2 separate regions of the Homo sapiens genome follow, and region 2 is linked to region 1. Evidence: promoter capture Hi-C in human tissues and cell types (Jung and others, 2019). All regions are on one chromosome and are shown on one strand. The core of a region is centred on a gene start or on the middle of the fragment in contact, and the rest is flanking DNA. Distances in the headings are between cores, read along the strand shown.

What was found. Contacts are between HindIII fragments. The study calls those that stand out against the background at their distance.
Region 2: a fragment that was not itself captured here is called in contact with the fragment with the promoter of SPECC1L-ADORA2A in region 1 in 2 of the 25 tissues and cell types used here (aorta and spleen).

The regions. Positions count from the first base shown.
Region 1 is chr22:24,268,983-24,272,129 of GRCh38, reverse strand. It overlaps SPECC1L-ADORA2A (SPECC1L-ADORA2A readthrough (NMD candidate)), which reads right to left and starts at 1,313. Exons shown (of 20, transcript NR_103546.1): 1 at 1,147-1,313. It overlaps SPECC1L (sperm antigen with calponin homology and coiled-coil domains 1 like), which reads right to left and starts at 1,299. Exons shown (of 17, transcript NM_015330.6): 1 at 1,147-1,299. It also overlaps the pseudogene RPS10P29. RefSeq lists an enhancer at 841-920 and a silencer at 981-1,510. The HindIII fragment of the contact is 12,728 bases long and covers 1-3,147 here.
Region 2 is chr22:24,059,042-24,062,009 of GRCh38, reverse strand. CABIN1 (calcineurin binding protein 1) reads right to left here. Exons shown (of 37, transcript NM_012295.4): 11 at 2,647-2,783; 12 at 1,869-2,086; 13 at 1-63. Among named protein-coding and RNA genes, the nearest start is that of CABIN1, 49 kb to the right of the region's middle. The HindIII fragment of the contact is 4,065 bases long and covers 1-2,968 here.

The sequences.
Region 1 (3,147 bases), core at 64-2,563:
GGATTACAGGCATGAGGCACCGCGCCTGGCCTGGTTTTTAATTACGAAGAAAAAATTACTATAGTCCCTTTGGTATCACCTACATTGGCAAAATTGCAGTCCCCCTCCACTCCCTGAAGCCACCAGAAATGACTGCTGTTGTCTACAAAGCCTACAGCTCTGATTTCATCTCAAGATGTGTCCTACTGGGTGACAGCAAATGCCATTTTTTAAAGGCTTGTATCTGTTATAAGCTTGGGAAATATTATCATGGCTTAAGAGGCTCTTTTGACAAAAGAAAACACTGTTCCCTGAAATCACCTGGGCTGTTCACGGGAATCTTTTCCTCGCCCTTCTGGTACTTGGACAAATGATCAAGGATATCAACAAATCAAGGTTCCCCGCATTTGAATGATCACAGAATTTTTGCGTGTTCTGTAAATGGGCTAAAACTACTGGAAACTGATTTCTTTTCGTCATCTCCAGGGCAGCTTGCCCAACGTGCCGCGACTATGATGTCTTAGACTTAACTACTTAAGGTAATACAATTACCAAATTCCTGGAAACGCAAAATTTCCTCAGACAGGTACCGGATTATTCACATCCAACCTGATGCAATTAACCACGTCTCAAGAAAAAAGGACGTTCCGTCCGCCTCGGGCGCCGGCCACAGCAGAAGCAGCACCGGCAGCAGGCCCGGGGTCCGCCGCCTGTGGCCCCTGCTCCTCCGCTCTGCGCCCTCGGGGCCACTGAACAACGCTGTCCCCGCCCCAGGCAAGGGACCCGGGCGATGGGGCGGCAGCCCCAGCCTCTCCCGGAGCGGCGGAAAGGCAAGCACGAGGGTCGCACCCGGCCTGTCTGCACACAGTCAAGCCGCAAGCGGGGTCCCAGAACCAGCTGAACCCCAACACCAACGGACGAAGGCCAGTGGGTCTCGGCGGCGAAGCCTGCGGGTTGTTCCAGAAGCCCCGAAGCCCAGAACGAGGACGGCGCGGGAAGGGAAAGGCGCAGGCGCGGGACACACTGGAGGGGCCCAGGAGCAGAGACGGCGCAGGCGCTGGGCCTGCCGGGGTCTGCGGGGACGCCCGGGCGCGGCAGCGCGGGCGGCGCTGAGGCGATAAACCAACCCGCCAGCGAACACTGCGGGAACCCGGCTGCTGCTCTTACCGCGCTGCACCGCATCGCTCCCTCGCAATCTCCTGGTTTGGGCTGGGCGGTGAGCTCACCCGGTGGCTCAGCCGAGACCCGTTGAGTCCGGCCTCAGGAAAGCAGCCTACCCCGCAGCGCCGCTTGCCGGGCCGCCCGGCCTCCCTCGCGGGCCCCGCCCTTGGCCAGCCCCTTCGCGCCCAGCAGGGCTGCGGCCGTCTGCGCAGGCGTCGTGGAGGCCCCGCCTACATTCCTTCACTGCGCAGGCGCCGCCGTCCCCCACCACCACCCCCTCCCCTTCCCCCATCTCCGGCTCGCGTCCGTCTCGGCACTGGGTCGCGCAGCCGCTCTGCCACTTGGCCGGTCAAGAAAGTAGCCGGCCAGCCGGTGCGCATGCCTCAGGTCTTGGGCTGGAGCCGGGCAAGGCGGGTCCCTTCAGAGGCCCCACTGGGCCCAGCGGAATGATGCTCAGAGTCCGCTAGTCCCAAAAGTTCTCCTCAGCGTGTTTACCGTGTGCCAAGGACTGTGCTATGCATGAGCCAGACAGCAGTGAGGAAAACACAAAGCCCTGTCCTCCTGGCACTCCCGGTACATAAGGGAACAGACAAAAAGAATAAGCGAGCAACATATATGTATATATATATGTATATACATATATATATACGTATATATATATACGTATATATATATGTATATATATACATATATATATACGTATATATATATGTATATATATGTGTATATATATACATATATATATGTATATATATATATATATATATATAAAATATTAAAGAAATTCTGGGGGAGTTCGAGTTCCATCGGCCCCCATCCGGGCCACCCTGCCACCTTAGCGGCTGCTCCTCCCCAGAATGCTGATGCCTAAGAAAAACCGGATTGCCATTTATGAACTCCTTTTTAAAGAGGAAGTCACGGTGGTCAAGAAGGATGTCCACATGCCTAAGCACCTGGAGTTGGCAGACAAGAATGTGCCCGGCCGGGCGCGGTGGCTTAGGCCTGTAATCCCAGCACTTTGGGAGGCCGAGGCGGGCGGATCACGAGGTCAGGAGTTCAAGACCAGCCTGGCCAAGATGGTGAAACCCGTGTCTACTAAAAATACAAAAATATTAGCCAGGCGCGGTGGCAGACACCTGTAATCCCAGCTAGTCGGGAGGCCAAGGCAGGAGAATTGCTTGAACCCAGGGGGCGGAGGTTGCAGTGAGCCGAGATCGCGCCCCTGCACTCCAGCCTGGGCGACAGAGTGAGACTCCTCTCAAAAAAAAAAGAATGTGTGTGCCCAACCTTCCTGTCATGTAGTCCCGAGGCTACTACGTGAAGGAACAGTTTGCCTGGAGACATGTCTACTGGTACCTTACCAATGAGGATATCCAGTATCTCCGTGATTACCTTCATCTGCCCCTGGAGATTGTGCCTGCCACCCTACGCCGCAGCCGTCCAGGGACTGGCAGGCCTCGGTCTAAAGGTCTGGAGGGTGAGCGACCTGCAAGACTCACAAGAGGAGAAGCCGACAGAGATACCTACAGAAGGAGTGCTGTGCCCCCTGGTGCCGACAAGAAAGCCGAGGCTGGGGCTGGGTCAGCAACCGAATTCCAGTTTAGAGGCAAATTTGGTCGTGGACACCGTCAGCCACCTCAGTAGAATTGGAGAGGATTATTTTGCATTGAATAAACTTACAGCCAAAAAGACTTAAAAAAAAAAAAAGAAAAAAATTGTATTATGTCGCAAATGAACCTGTTGCAATGATCATACAGGTTTTTTCCTTTGATAGTTTGTACTACTTTAATAGTTTTTTCTTTTATTACATAATCTTAGTTTCCTAGGAAAACCCCAACTTGGTCGTGATACATGTTTAATCCATTGCTGGATTATTTGCTAATATTTTATTTAGCGTTTTTGCATATATGTCCATAAGAAGTTAGTCCATACTTTTGCCTCCTTGTACTATTTATGTCTGGTTTGGTTTTAAGCCTATACTAAATTCACAGTGAGTTGGGGAGAATT
Region 2 (2,968 bases), core at 444-2,943, 210 kb after region 1:
TTTGGTCAGCAGCCACTGGTCCAGCTGGAGTTCCATGCAGGAGAGAGACATCAGCATCATGTCCTGCAGGACAGACACAGGAAGGTCAAGAACAGTATCACAAAGCCTCTTCACAGTGTGGGGGGTAGGGGGCTGTGGAAGGAAACAAAACTATACTTTTTGATAAAAATATAATTCTTTCTATCCACTTGCCATTTCATAAGTGATAATCAGTGGCTACTCGCCAGAACATAAAAAGAGCCACATGGATGTATGTTGGGACAAGACTTGGGAGAGGCCAGGAGACCGGTCTTCAGAGTTCTTGTCCTGTTGAAGAGGCAGCCCTGTCACCTGCCAAGTGCTGGGACGGACACTGCATCCAAATTATAGAACTCAACCCTTAAAAGTTCTGGGCAGCTGGTATACCATTCCCAGGGCACTTGAGGAAGCTGAGGCTCAGTGATGAGAAGGCACTTGCCCATTGGGCACAGCTGGAAGGTGATCATCAGCCTGCTTTGCCTGGGGATCAAAGCCCTGGTTCCTCCTGCTGTTTCACAACTGCCCCAGGGGAGCATGGCCTGGTGGGCAGAAGCTGCCAGGAGGTTGCCCTGAGGTAACTCAGTGGAGGGTGCCCACCAAGGGATGACTGACCTACAAGCTCTTCTACCTCCTGTGCTCTCAAGTCAGAAAGACCACCAGGCATCCCTGAATGTTCCTGGTGCTCCTGCTTCAGCATTCAGTGTCCCACCTCCAACAGGAGTAAGGGGCCAGAGCACCTTGTGTTCCCTTGAGCTCCAGGAGGCACCAAGTGGAGGAGGCTGGGGTGTGGAATGCAGCAGGAAGACAAGGCTCAGTGAGGCTCAGCCCCCTACTGCTGGTGGCCCCCAAAGCTTCTCTAAGCACGCTATTTAGCTTCTGCTGTTTTATCATCTGTTAAAAATAGTCATAGGCCAGGCATGGTGGCTCCCGCCTGTCATCCCAGTGCTTTGGGATGCCAAGGCATCAGGATCACTTGAGCCCAGGAGTTCCAGACCAGTCTGGGCAACATGGCAACATGGCAAGACCACATCCTAACATCGTAACAAAAGGAGACCCCCATCTCTACAAAACAAAACAAATTTTTTTTTTTTGAGACAAGAGTCTCGCCTTGTCGCCTAGGCTGGAGTGCGGTGGCGCCATCTCGGCTCACTGCAAGCTCCGCCTCCCGGGTTCACACCATTCTCCTGCCTCAGCCTCCTGAGTAGCTGGGACTATAACCGGGTGTGGTGGTGTACGGCTGTGGTTCCAGCTACTTTGAAGGCTGAGGTGGGAGGACTACCCGAGCCCAGGAGGTTGAAGCTGCAGTGAGCCGTGACTGCACCACTGCACTCCAGCCTAGGCAACAGAGCAAGACCCTGTCTCAAACAACAACAACAAAAGCCTCAGTCACAGTCCTTGCCAACTCAAACAAACCAAATGTTTCCCTTTCCTCCAGCTTCTCCTGGCAAGGCTTCCTGTGACTCAGTAAACAACCCGAGAAGCCCTCCCCATGACTCTCATTCCCTCACACATCCCATGTCTAGTTCAACCTATCAGCTCTGCAACCACAAACCAGCACCCCACTATTACCACTGGATCTCAGCCACTGCTCCCCTGGCATGGCAGCAGCCTCCTGATAGCCCCGTGAGCCCACTCTCACCCCTAAGTGTATCCTCCACTCAGCCATCAGGGAGCTTTCTAGGCACAAACTAGGTTCAGTGACTTCCTGCTTCGACACCCACAAAAAAACCAGGTTCCAGGCCCACAAGTAGATGCAGCCAAACACAACAGCAGCCCCACACCCATGCAAGATCCCTGTCCCCATGCCCTGGTCCCAGTTCAATACCAGCCCTTGAGAGGCTCCCCCTAACCTTGATGTGCTTGTTGCTGCAGTCCCTCAGCAGCGGGTTGGGCAGGCTGGTGCTGTGCCTCCTCCAGCTGTGGTAGACGCTGAGCACGACCTCCGCCAAGCCTGGAGGCCACCTTACCAAGAACTTGTGGCCCATGGCTTTCAGGTAGCGCATCATCAGCTCCAGGATGCCCCCGTTGGTTAGGTTCTCCAGCAGGAACTCATGCACGTCCTGCTTTTCTGCCCGGGGAGCAAGAACAACCTGACTTGAATAAAGAGTACCTTCCATGCCAGGGTCTCCTATTTACTTTGGGACAGTAAAGACTGTTCCCTCCCTCTACCATCTGATCCAGGTGGACATGATACCACGTTGTGGTGCTGAGATCAGGCTACTGGGTTCAATGCCTGGCTCCAACCCTCAGCAGCTATGATTGAGCCTCTCTGAATCTCCGTATCTAAGGTGGACATCAAAAGGGCAGACCTCCAAGTGCTGCCATGTGCACTAATCTCACTCAACAGTTATACACTGATACACACTCAACAGGTGTGCTTATATAGATTCAATTTGCAAAGCGAAGTCTCTGAATTTGGCCATAAGAAAGCATAGCAAGTATGAGCCTGGACATTTCAGAAGACCTCCAAGCTGACCACAGGGCTTAGGTCCAAGACTAATCCAGGCAGACTCTTGGCCACACTAAAAAACACCCCAGAACCATTCTCCCAGAACAAAACATAAGCAGGTTATAGGATAGTGGGAAGAAGAATTCCCAAAGTGAATGGTCACACTGCTCGATTCCTACCAGATTCCATGAATGTGGCTGAGTCAAATGACAGCCTTTGAGGCCCAATGCTTGGGAAGCTTTCCAGTTTGGCTTCTGACTGGACTTCATAGTTATTAAAGGAATCATCTTCCTCCTCAGGGTCCAGCTTTCTTAACCTGCATGTAACATGCCAAAATCACAAAGTCACAACACACGTTCTGACACAAGCATCTGAACTCTTCCTGTTAGAGAAACTAAATCTGAGTCAGGAAGAAGGCAGCTAAAATAAGTGGGTGGTGGGGTCCAGAACCCAGGCCTCCAGGAGGCTCTGCCTCTCTCCAGGGCCTCATGAGCCAGCATT